Linked DNA regions of Homo sapiens: region 1 is linked to region 2. The links are contacts of gene promoters, found by promoter capture Hi-C in blood cells and fetal thymus (Javierre and others, 2016). All regions are on one chromosome and are shown on one strand. Each heading gives the region's core, a stretch centred on a gene start or on the middle of the fragment in contact. The rest is flanking DNA. Distances are from core to core; before and after follow the strand shown. Region 1 overlaps ARRDC3-AS1 (ARRDC3 antisense RNA 1). Region 2 holds the start of SRP19 (signal recognition particle 19).

The links. The method cuts DNA at HindIII sites, captures the fragments that hold promoters and counts their contacts. A CHiCAGO score of 5 or more calls a contact.
Region 1: a fragment that was not itself captured here is called in contact with the fragment with the promoter of SRP19 in region 2 in 1 of 17 cell types (fetal thymus); the score reaches 8.6 in fetal thymus.

The regions. Positions count from the first base shown.
Region 1 is chr5:91,381,436-91,387,436 of GRCh38, forward strand. The region is part of intron 1 of ARRDC3-AS1 (ARRDC3 antisense RNA 1); the gene reads left to right. It overlaps ARRDC3 (arrestin domain containing 3), which reads right to left and starts at 1,882. Exons shown (of 8, transcript NM_020801.4): 1 at 1,378-1,882. The coding sequence starts at 1,657. RefSeq lists a silencer at 1,789-2,098 and enhancers at 1,952-2,469, 2,349-2,648. The HindIII fragment of the contact is 398 bases long and covers 2,975-3,372 here.
Region 2 is chr5:112,856,419-112,862,584 of GRCh38, forward strand. It overlaps SRP19 (signal recognition particle 19), which reads left to right and starts at 4,869. Exons shown (of 5, transcript NM_003135.3): 1 at 4,869-4,999; 2 at 6,090-6,165. The coding sequence starts at 4,959. RefSeq lists enhancers at 4,634-4,928, 4,687-4,766, 4,867-5,166. The HindIII fragment of the contact is 2,166 bases long and covers 4,718-6,166 here.

The DNA of each region.
Region 1 (6,001 bases), core at 1,924-4,423, about 21 Mb before region 2:
TGTCATTAGGCATTTGCATCTCCTATCAGTGTTAACACTTGGAGAGATTAATTAGTTATTTCAGGATGCAAAGTACCTGTATCTAACTACGAAAATCCTGCTAAAGAACTGAGTTCACCTTAATAGTTTCAAAAATAATGCATTAATACTGTCCCTCAAAGCATCCTTCATTTCTCACTTGCCTTAGTCATCAGCACTTCTCCAGGATGTACGTTTTTAATATAAAAAATAAGGTAAAATATGTCTCTAATTTTTTTTCTGAAAAATCGCCAACATCTGAACTAAATACTGCATTAAAAAGGAGAGGCACAAAAATTACATAACCAGTTTTAACATTATATTCTTCTTGGGCTAGGAATTAAGTCATCGCCACCACCTGACGCGTGTAACCAATCTGCTGAGAGCAGAACAAGCGCCCCTCCTCACCACCCCCCAGAACTGGTCCGAAACAGGATTGAACCGCTTCTAACAAAGGGTGGAAACTTAGAAAAACAAGCCTAGAGTCTCCTATATTTCCACAATGTAACCATTTAAACAATAGATTGGAAATCTCAGGACTCCTTCTCCTTTTGACAACCCTTTATCTCTCTCTTCTAACCAAAAATCAAATCCAGTGTGCCCTATACTTTTCAATTCCATTTGACTGGCATGGGTTTCATTGAATGCACGTTCCAAAGTTAGACATGATGCTCGGAAAAGAAAATTACTGATCCTAAATGGCTTCTAAACCTGACTCGATACCTATCATAATGACAGATAGTCATTCCTTTAAAATAAGGAATGCTGGGTGTAAATTTTTAAAGGAATGGTAAAGAATAGAGAAAAAACACGTGGGGTGTTGATACCATATGTCAAAATAAGCCACAGAAATCTTTTATGAAAGAACAGTCATCAATTATTTAAAGTCTTTTGCATTCCAATATTAAAAATGAAACACACCCATTAAGTCTCTTAAAAATGTTATTACATTTCTTGATCGAAGTTCAGTTTTTACATCTTAGGTTGCAAGTAAAAGGGCAAAAATCTAAGACTGCAGCTTTTACCAATTCATTTGAAAATATATTAGTAAAACGACTGAATTGGATTCAAACAGAATTTATAAGTAAGGTGCAAATGGACTACAAGTGCGTGTGGCACAGACCGAGCCGGGTACAGAGGTAGCTGAATAAGTGTAGTTTGCAGTCACTTTGCAGATGCCTGCATGCATTACGGCTTAACACACGATGAACGTCAAGGAGAATCCAAACCTTCCAACTTTGCTAACCTTTCTCAAACTGCTTAGTTATGCTAGGAGTAGAATCACGTTAATTCAGAAAACTGAAAAGGTACGTTTCCAAAGAAAATGAGTCCAATGACTTATGAATAACAAAAACTTACCTCTTTCGTGCCCAATTAAGATGTCTTTATGGTTGAAATACTCTACTTCTTCAGTGTAATTCTGTGTATAGGCAGTATTGGAGCCGGCGTTTCTAGATTCAGTCCAGCGTACTTTCGCATGTCCTCTTGCATGAATTTTAAGAGATTTTACTCTGATTTCCCCAGTAACTTCTAAATTTACCCTTCCTGAGACGGTATCCCCACTAGAATACACAGGGACATTGCTGTCATTAAGACAGTCAAAGCTTATTGTCAAACTCTTCACCTTTCCCAGCACCATGTTTATAACAAAATCTATAAAAATATAATGTAAGACAAAAAAGTCAAGATCGCATATAAAATGTGATCTTCACTTAACACTGATCGATATTTTTGCCGTGCAAAATGCTTGCAGGCCGGATCAGTGATTCTCTACAAATAGTTCATTGAGATTTCTTAAAAAGTCAGGGCAGCAGAGGCTGCTGCTCCGCGCTCCCGCTCGTCTCAGTGGTCTCCTTACAAAGACGGGCGGCTAAAAGCTGCCAGCTCACTTTAAGAGCAGCTTTGTGAAAAACAACCCCAGTGCGCAGGCGCAGGCCGCGGCTGCTGTCCGCCCTCCCTGCGCGCCCCCTCCCGCGCCGCGCCGCGCCGCGCTCGCTCCCTTGCCCGCTCGCTCCCGGGTACAGTAGGTGTAGAGCTAGGGGAAGGAGATACTGGAGCTGCTGGCCGGCTGAACCTGACTTCTCTTCATTGTGGGCTCCTATTGGTAGGCAGGCTACCGTATACCCTCGACGTGCTATCTGGAGCCCGTTACCGAGCGCACTCTACTAGAAAGATAATGGCAGAGTGGGGTGCGAGGGTACAAGGGCTGGGTGGGGAGTTTGCAAAGCCAAGTTAGGATAAACTGCAGCGACCAGCCCGAAGCGTGCGTTACCGGCACTGCAGCGTTTTACCAACTGCCTGGATGGGAGGAGGAAAAAGTGATGTGTGAAGAGAGATGGGGGAAGGGAGAAACCGGTTGGGCAAGCGGCCGATTGTTGAGCATAATCTAACGAATTTCCAAAGAAAACGTAATAAAACCGGACAAGAAATATTGTTCATAGACAAGAGCATACTTTGCTTGGATTTTTTTTTTTTAAACCAGTACTTTGTAGGCAGGTTGGAAATGAACTCAGTCGAGGTCAAAGGAACCTTAATCCTTTGAAGAGCGAGGTAGAGAAGCAAGTACAATGTAATCAATAGGCTTTGCTGTCTCCTCAACTTCTTTCTCCTACATTGCTTAATTAGCACCGAAAAACAACCAAGTTGTTTCCAGGATGACACGGGTGGGGGCTGGGGGAAGCTTGATCACTTCCTCGAAGGAAGAAAAAGTCCTTTTAAGACACCACCTACGGCTAGATTTGCAGAGTAAGACATGATTACAACTCCTGTGTCCAGAGGAATAAGAATAGAGTTCGGCCTAAAAAAGTACTACCTTATAAAAGGCATATGACATAGTGGTTTAGCTGACATATTGTTTGCAACAGAATCGGAAAATCTTTGTTAGAAATTAGTGAAGCGCATAAAATTGTTTTTAAAAAGCATGATTTGGTATATAAATAGGGATTTAACTGTGTGAAGCTTTAATTTTCGGCCGAGAGCCTTGGACCATTTAACGTAGTAATTCTCATGATACATCTTAAATATAGGTACATTTCTCTTTTTATTGTGAATGTTTGGTAAAAAATAGCAGTGCTTTCGTCACATCACACTGGGATTCAGAGCATAACAGCATAAACTCATCTAGATTACTGGCAATCAACAGAACTGCCTTACAAGAGAAATGTAGAAAGAAAAAATATGAATCTGGTGCTCTCTCTATATATATATGTATGACCAAAAATACCTTGGAAGATTTTTGGCTGTCCGTGTCTAAACGTTTTAGATTCTTTTGCGTAGTGTATATGGATAGGTTGAGCCTATGAGTCACAATAAACTAAACTTATTGGTCTTGCTGTTTTATTTCAAAAGAAACTAAGCTTTTGGGGGTTGGATTTTAGTTGACAAGGCAATATCTTGGACTCAACAGCAATATATAAAGAGTATAAATATGCAAACTAGACAATTAATGAGCAGGCCATTTATTTCAGAGTTTAGATCGCTATGCATAAAATTATAAATTTGCATATTTAAGTGGGAAAAACAGTCTTATCTTTTCCCTACCTCTTGGTTGACACCTGGTGGAAATTCTAGGTAAAGTACCTGGGGCCTTGTACTAGCTTTGATTACAGATACTACTTGTGTTTTTTCTCCACCTAGTGGTAGAAGTGGTGAATTTCCTAGAATGACAGCTTTTCCTCAGCATAAGGTCAATGATATTTAATAAGCATTCGAAAACCACTGAGCAAGGAATGGATTTAAAAGTGTAGTCCATAATGAATACATAAATTCATTGCACATTTGTGTCTACATTTATGTTAAAAATTATTAAGGGTTAGTGAACAGCTGAATTCGGATTTTTTTAGTAAAATTTATTTAATTAGAATATAACTCATTTCAGAAAAAATAAGAATTAGCTATATAAATACACCAGAATTGCATTTAATAAAAAAGAAGTCTAAGAAATTTATTTGTAGTTTGGAAAATTGTTTTAAAATATTAAATGTTTCATTCCTGTCACTGTGTAGTACATTATTCTTTGTGTTTGAAGCTTTCAGGATCTTTTGAATAGTTGTCTTTATTATTTATTTTGCTATTTTTAAAATTTTCTTTTTACTGTGTCTTCTTAAATACTTAGGTAACTGGCAAATTTCCAAGAAATTCTTACCAGCTGCCATTTTCATTATATTTTTATTTTTTGAGATGGAGTCTCACTCTGTTGCCCAGGCTGGAGTGCAGTGGCACAATCTAGGCTCTCTGCGGCCTCTGCCTCCCGGGTTCAGGCGATTCTCCTGCCTTAGCCTCCGGAGCAGCTGGGATTACAGGCACGCACCACCACCTCTGGCTACTTTTTGTATTTTTAGTAGAGACAGGGTTTCACCATGTTGGCCAGGCTGGTCTTGAACTCCTAGCCTCAAGAGATCCACCCGCCTTGGCCTCCCAAAGTGCTGGGACTATAGACATGAGCCGCTTGCGCCTGGTCTCGCTTTATCTTTTCAATTCTTAAAAACAAAAACAAAAACAAAAACGCTTGGACCAAATTTTGAATGTTTTCTCTTGTCGCTTTCATAACTTCCCCCTTTCAGATTTTTTGTCTAAATAGCTACTCCTTAGACAGCTTGAAATGCTGTACTGTAGACATTATCTTGGGCTTCTCAGCTTGCTTCACTGGGCCATTATTGTATTTTGTATTATATTTAAACTATTCGTCTTTACCATCAAGGCTCTTTCCTACTTCTCCCCAGCCTACGTCTCATATGCCATCTCCTCCTACTCATCTGCTAACTCTCTATAATCCTGTCAAGTACATCTTCTGTCCCCTTTGTTAGCTTGTCTCACTGTTGCCAGTATGCAGTTACATGTGCTTTTGGTGCCCAGAATAACATCCCACTACTATGTTATCTCCTTTGCTTTTTTCTAATCCCTCCACTAGATGCAGTTGGCACTACTGAGTAAAATTCCAACTAGACTGAATAACTAGCTTCCCTTCCCCTTTCATTGCTTCTTCAGAGCTTAAGTAGGAATCTCTTTTTATATTAGCTTTTGAGTCAAATGGCTCTTTCACCTTAATATATTAAAGTTTGAACTCAATCTCAAGAACTCTATCAAAGACTGATAAATGATCATTGCTGTCAAGTTGTATGATATTGAGGAGATATGTTAAGATTACTGCCAAGTTTGGAGTTTTTTGCATATTATATCAACATGCTCAATATTTTTATTTTTAAAAAAAAAGGAAGCCATCTCAACTGGAAGTTTTGGTGTTTGGTTGAAAAAAAAAAAAACCTACCAGTAGTCAGAATCTGTTTCATAAAGAAAAATATGAAATCTATGCTTAATCTATTTTAACTAGCAGCTGATAGGCTCGAGTGCTATGGGACTAAGGGGGATTTTTTTCCTTTGGTCTTAATTCTGTATTTCAAGATTTTGTAACTCTGACTTAACTCTTTAATATCGTCACAGTGCAGCAAATTTGGCATGCAGACTGGACAGAAGACTTGCTGTATTATTAGCAAAATGAGTAGTATTTGTTTTTTAGCTTTGAGAGCTATTACAAACATAACGCATATTATGTTTGTTATGTTCTTCATACTTAATAGACTTTTAAATATGTTATGGATTTTGTGATGAAACTCACTATCAAATTTGGATTCTGATATCCTTCATTAATAAATAGTATAATTTGTGTTATGTGAACACCATTTAATCTGTTATATTTTATTTCTTGATTAAAAGAAAATCACCCATAATTCTACTGTCCGTCCATTCAGAGACACCACTGTTAACATTTTGGTGTATTTCCATCCAGATGTACAACTAAAGAAGAGCATTGCCAGTGAAGCTATGGCAGTGCATATTATCATGTAGAAGATGAGTTGGTAAAGTTTATTCATCTAAGCTCAAATGGCATCTGGTCTACAGAAAGAATTAGGAATGCTAAATTTCTTTTCTGAACTACTTTATAAATTTTGACTTTTGACTATGCACAACTTTATATAATGAGGGT
Region 2 (6,166 bases), core at 3,619-6,118:
TGTCAGTGTGGTAACAATATTGCATTCTTTCTCTCTTCCTCACCCCTCCTCTCTGTAGTTGTACAATATCTCAGCAATGGTGTGGAGTTTAATAGGAGTGTGGATTTGGCATTGAATGACACTAAAAAATATTAGCTCTGTCATTAATTCTCTTAATTCTCTTAGTATATATGAACCAGGACATGTTACTAGCAATTATAATATTGACCTTTTTGTCTCCAATTACTTAGATGGCTCTACAAAAACAATTCCATGGTAAGTAGGCTACTTGCATGTATTAAGCCTCAGGCTACCTCATTCATTTTCTACTTTTTAATATGTGTATGCGTACCCTAAGGCAAGAAAATTATGTATTTTAAAGTTTGGATTCATTTCATCTCTAAATGTACTCCTCAATTTTAGGTCATTGCATGACACTGTTTTAACAGGACTCATATACACTTTAGAAAGAAGTAAACGTTATTTATTTACATCAGGAGCAAACTTAATTTTGTGCTAAAAAAAAAAAAATACATGGAAGATTGAGAGACATAAGTGAGAACATGAAGGAAAGTCAGGGGCTTCCAGTCAGACTAGCTGACTGGAGCATCTATGCTCAGCCATTATTAGCATGAATGGGCTAATTATTTAACCTCACTGAGACTCAAACTTTCATGAAGATTTTTGTTGGTTGAGTTTGGTTTTTCAGTTTGTCTGCTTTTTTATCTGTAAAAGAGAAAACCTATCTCACTTTGCCTGGCTTTTTGAAGCATGTCTTTGTAGGTGTGGAATAAACATCCATTATTAAAACAGGAACGAAGGTAGGTTTAGTTGAATGGAGATGCTGAAATACTACTTTGCAATCAATCTAAGTTATGCAAAAAATATATAGGCATGCCTCAGAGATGTTGCAGGTTTGGTTCCAGACCACCACAATAAAGCAAATATCATAATAACGCAAGTCATACAATTTTTTTGATTTCTCAGTGCATATAAAAGTTATGTTTACATTATACTGTAGTCTGTTAAGTGTGAAATAGCATTATATCCAGAAAAATAATGTACATACCTTATTTAAAATACTTTATTGCTAAAAATGCTAACAACCATCTGGGCCTTCAGAAAATCATAATCTTTTTGCTGGTGGAAGGTCTTGCCTCAGTGTTGATGTCTGCTGACTGATCAGGATGATGGTTGCTGAAGGTTGGAGTGGTTGTGGTAATTTCTTAAAATGAGACAACAGCGAATTTTGCCACATCAACTGACTCTTCCTTTCACGATAGATTTCTCTGTAGCGTGTAATGCTGTTTGGTAGTATTTTACCTATAGTAGAACTTCTTTAAAAACTGGAGTCAGTCCTCTCACACCCTGCCACTGCTGTATCAACTAAGTTTATGCTATTCTAAACCCTTTGATGTCATTTCAACAATGATCACAGCATATTCACCAGTGGTTTTCATCTCAAGAAACCACTTTCTTTGCCCATTCATAAGAAGCAACTCCTCATCATTCAAGTTTTATCATAATTGTAACAATTCAATCCCATCTTCAGTTTCTACTTCTAATTCTAGTTTTCTTGCTATTTCCACCACATCTGCAGTTATTGCCTCCACTAATGTCTTAAAGTCCTCAAAATGATCCCAGAGTGTTGAAATCAACTTCTTCCAAATTCCTGTTCATGCATCAGCATATTTTAACCTCCAATGAATCACAAATGCTCTTAATGCCATCTAGAATAGTGAATCTTTTTTAGAAGGTTTTCAATTTATCTTGCCCAGATCCATCAGAGGAATCACTATTTGGCAGCTATAGTTTTACAAAATGTATTTCTTAATAAGAGATGAAAATAAAAATTACTATTTGATCTGTAAACTGCAGAATGGATGATGTGTTATCAGGCATGAAAACATTAATCTCCTTCTAGATCTCCATCAGAAACTTAGATGTCTAGAGGTCTAGGTGCATTGTCAATGAGCAGTAATATTTTGAAAGGAATCTCTTTTTTTTTTCTCTGAGTAGTTGTTTTCAACAGTGGGCTTAAAAATATTCAGTAAAGGCTGGGTGCAGTGGCTCACGCCTGTAATCCCAGTACTTTGGGAGGCTGAGGCAAGAGGATTGCTTGACCCCATGAGTTCAAGACCAGCCCGGGCAACATAGCAAGACCTTGTCTCCACTAAAAATAAAAATAAAAATCAGCCAGGCATGGTGGCATGAGCCCATAGTCCCAGCTACTCAGGAGGCTTGTGTAGGAGGATTGCTTGAGTGTGGGAGGTCAAGGCTGCAGTGAGATGTGATAGGGCCACTGCATGCCAGCCTGGGTGACAGAGCGAGACTGTCTCAAAAAAATAGTTCAGTAAACCATGCTGTAAACAGATGTACTGTCATCCAGGCTTTGTTGTTCCATTTAGAGAACACAGGCAGAGTTGATTTAGCATCATTCTAGGGTCTCTAGGATTTTCTGCATGGTAAATGTCCATTGGCTTTAACTTAAAATCACCAACTGCATTGTTCCCTAACAAGATAATCAGCCTGTCCTTGGCAGCTTTGAAGCCAGGCATTGACTTCTTCTCTCAAAGAGACAAGGATTTTGGGTGCTACATCCTAGATGGCATCTTTTTCCAATAGAAGGCTGTTTTGTCTACATTGAAAAACCTGTTGTTTAGTGTAGCCACTAAATGGGGCAGCTCTGAAGCCAGACATTGACTTCTCTCAAAGGGACAAGGATTTTGGGTGCTACATCCTAGATGGTATCTTTTTCCAATAGAAGACTGTTTTGTCTACATTGAAAAATCTGTTGTTTAGTGTAGCCACTAAATGATACTAGCTAATCATTGATCATCGTCAATGATATTAGCTACATTTTCTGGATAACTTGCTGCAGCTTCTCTATCAGCACTTGCTGCTTCACCTTGCACTTTTATGTTATATGTTATGGAGATGGATTCTTTCTTAAACCTCCTGAACCACCCTCTACTAGCTTCCCACTTCTGAAGCTTCCTCACCTTTCTCAGCCTTCACAGAATTGAAGGGAGTTAGGGCCTTGCTCGGATTAGGCTTTGGGTTAAAGGAATGTTGTGACTGGTTTGAGCTTCTATCCAAACCCCTAAAACTTTCTCCATATCAGCAATAAGGTTGTTTTGCTTTCTGATCATTTGTGTGTTTATTGAAGTAATTTCCTTTTAATTCCTTCAAGAATTTTGTCTTTGTATTTACAACTTGGCTGTTAGGTGCCAAGAGGCCTAGCTTTCAGCCTATCTTGGCTTACATATGCCTTCCTCACTAAGCTTAATCATTTCCATCTTTTGACATGTGAGACGTGTGACTCTTCCTTTCACTTGAATACTTAGAGGCCATTGTAGGGTTACTAACTGGCCTAATTTCAACATTGTTGTGTTTCAGGGAATAGGGACTCCAGAAGAGGGAGAGAGATGGGAAATGGCCAGTTGGTCGAACAGTTAAAACATACACAACATTTATCCATTAAGTTCCCCATCTTATCTGGGCATGGTTCATGGTGCCCCAAAACATTATTATTATTTGAGACGGAGTCTTGCACTGTCGCCAGGCTGGAGTGCAGTGGTGTGATCTTGGCTCACTGCAACCTCCACCTCCTGGGTTCAAGAGATTCCCCTGCCTCCCGAGTAGCTGGGACTAAAGGCCTGTGCCACCATGCCTGGCTTATTTTTTATATTTTAGTAGAGATGGGGTTTCACCATGTTGGCCAAGATGGTGTCTATCTCCTGACCTCGTGATCCACCTGCCTCGGCCTCCCAAAGTGCTGGGATTACAGGCGTGAGCCACCGCACCCGGCCTTAAAACTATTACAATAGTAACAGCAAACATCACTGATCACCGATCACCATAACAGAAATAATGAAAAGGTTTGAAATATTGCAAAAATTACCAAATGTGACACAAAGTATACGCTGCTGGAAAAATGGCACCAAGCAACTTCTTTCAGGCGGATTTGCCAAAAACCTTCCATTTGTAAAAAGGCAGTATCTACTCGCAGCAGCAAGTGAAGTGCAATAATGAAGTATGCCTGTAGTGATGGCACATGGTATCCTTCAGAAGTTTTAAAAGGTGAATAGTTTTGTTTCGTTTTTCCTAGACGGAGTCTTGCTCTGTTACGCAGGCTGGAGTGCAGTGGTGTGATCTCAGCTCACTGCAACCTCCACCTCCTGGGTTCAAGTGATTCTCCTGTCTCAGCCTCCGAGTAGCTGGGATTACAGGCGTGTGCCACCACACTCGGCTAATTTTTGTATTTTTAGTACAGACGGGGTTTCAGCATGTTGGCCAGGCTGCTCTCCAACTCCTGACCTCATGATCCACCTGCCTCAGTCTCCCAAAGTGCTGGGATACAGGCGTGAGCCACCGCACCCGGCCTAAAAGGTGAATAGCTAAGTTTCTAACGCAGAGCACACTGAAACACAACGTCTATAACTTTGCTAGTTCTACCACTACAAAAATCCATTTTGCCAAACTGAAAGCAAGCTCTAGAGCCCAGGAACGGAGAAAAATTAAACGTAAGGAGTATTTCCTTCCCTGTCTAACATATATTTGCATCCTGAACCACACAGATTCCCCTCGTGGCACAGTCTTCGCCCCTTAACAGAGAGTAGCTAGTACCACCCATACTCGCTGAGAAACTGGAAACGAGGGAGGGTCGAAGTTAAACCCTTTTTAGTGGCGGTGCATGCGCCCCACATGGTCTTCCCGGCTTGGGAAAGGAATGAGAAGCTTTCATGATTCTCTCGCGAGAAGGGAAGTCTTCATGCCACGTCAGAGACTAGAGATCCTGGCGCCGAGCGACAGGTGCCGGAACAAACAGGCGATGAGAAATCGCGGACGCGGAACCATTTCTTGGGCAGGACTTCCGGCGGAAAAGCGGGCTGTCTCGGAAACTCAGAGCCGGGTTCCTCCCGGGTTTCTGCCGGGTTTCTCCCTGCGGCTCCTGGGTTGTTGAGACTCTTGTGAAGATGGCTTGCGCTGCCGCGCGGTCCCCGGCCGACCAGGACAGGTGGGTTCTGAGGCGGTGGGTCCTCCGAAAGGAAGGGGCTTGCTGTGGTGCTGCAGGTGCTACACCGCGCTTCTCCGCTCCGCGGCCTCCAGAATGGCCTAGCTGATCCAACTCGCTCTGTACGGGCCCCGCGCCTCTCCCTGGCAGCTCGTTTTTCTGAATCCTGCAGCAGCCACCAGGCTCTTCTCAGGGCTCCTGAAATTCCGACCATAGGTAGCCTAGTGTTTATCTGTACGCGAGACAAGGATTTTGGGTGCTACGTGGACATGATATCAAGTAATATAATCACAGTGTGAGAAATGTGTTCTTTTTAAGTATTGTTGCGTTCAGAAAGGCTCATTTGTGAAATTTTAAGGTTTTTAATACCTCGGACACTTTATATAAGAGGGCGGGCCCATTCTCAGGAACTTTTGACGGGCTGCTCTGTCTAATGTAACAGTTACCCAAGTCGTTTTGTTTCTATTCCTGTGGTTTTTTTCCATCCAAGGTAGTGGATAAAGTTTATTTTTAAATAAGTTAAAGTGAGGTAATTTAAAGAAATAACATTAAGCAAATAATAGCATAGGTGTACCAGCAATGATGACGACTACCACGGACCGAAAGAATGTATTTTTGAAAATACTTGTTATCTGTTGAGTGTAGTTGTCCAGGTTCTTGGCGTTTTGAATAAGGAATTGAACAAAACACACAAAGCAAGGCAGCGAAAGCAGATTTATTTTAAACAAAAGTACACTCCACAGGGTGGGAGCCGGCTCCAGCAAGCTACCCAAGAGCTGTTGGTTACAGAATTTTCTAGGGTTTAAATACCCTCTAGACGTTTCCCATTGACCTGTGCCAGTCTGATTGGTTGAGGGAGGGGGATCAATCAGAAAGAGGAGTAGGCCCGCGGCCAGTCTGATTAGTTGCTCGAGGGGACCACTCCGAGGTACTTTGATTTTTCAACTGCCACGCAGAAAAAGGAGGGGTTGAAAAGGGAGTACCCATCTGATATCTAGGCAGCATGAATTGGCCTTTGGTTCCCTGCCACCCGACCCTTTTCTCCTGCCTCTTACTGCTCTAGTGATACCACTTATGCTATTGTCTATGGCAGGTTTATTTGTATCTATCCTGCTTATTTAAATAATAAGAAGACCATCGCAGAGGGAAGGCGAATCCCCATAAGTAAGG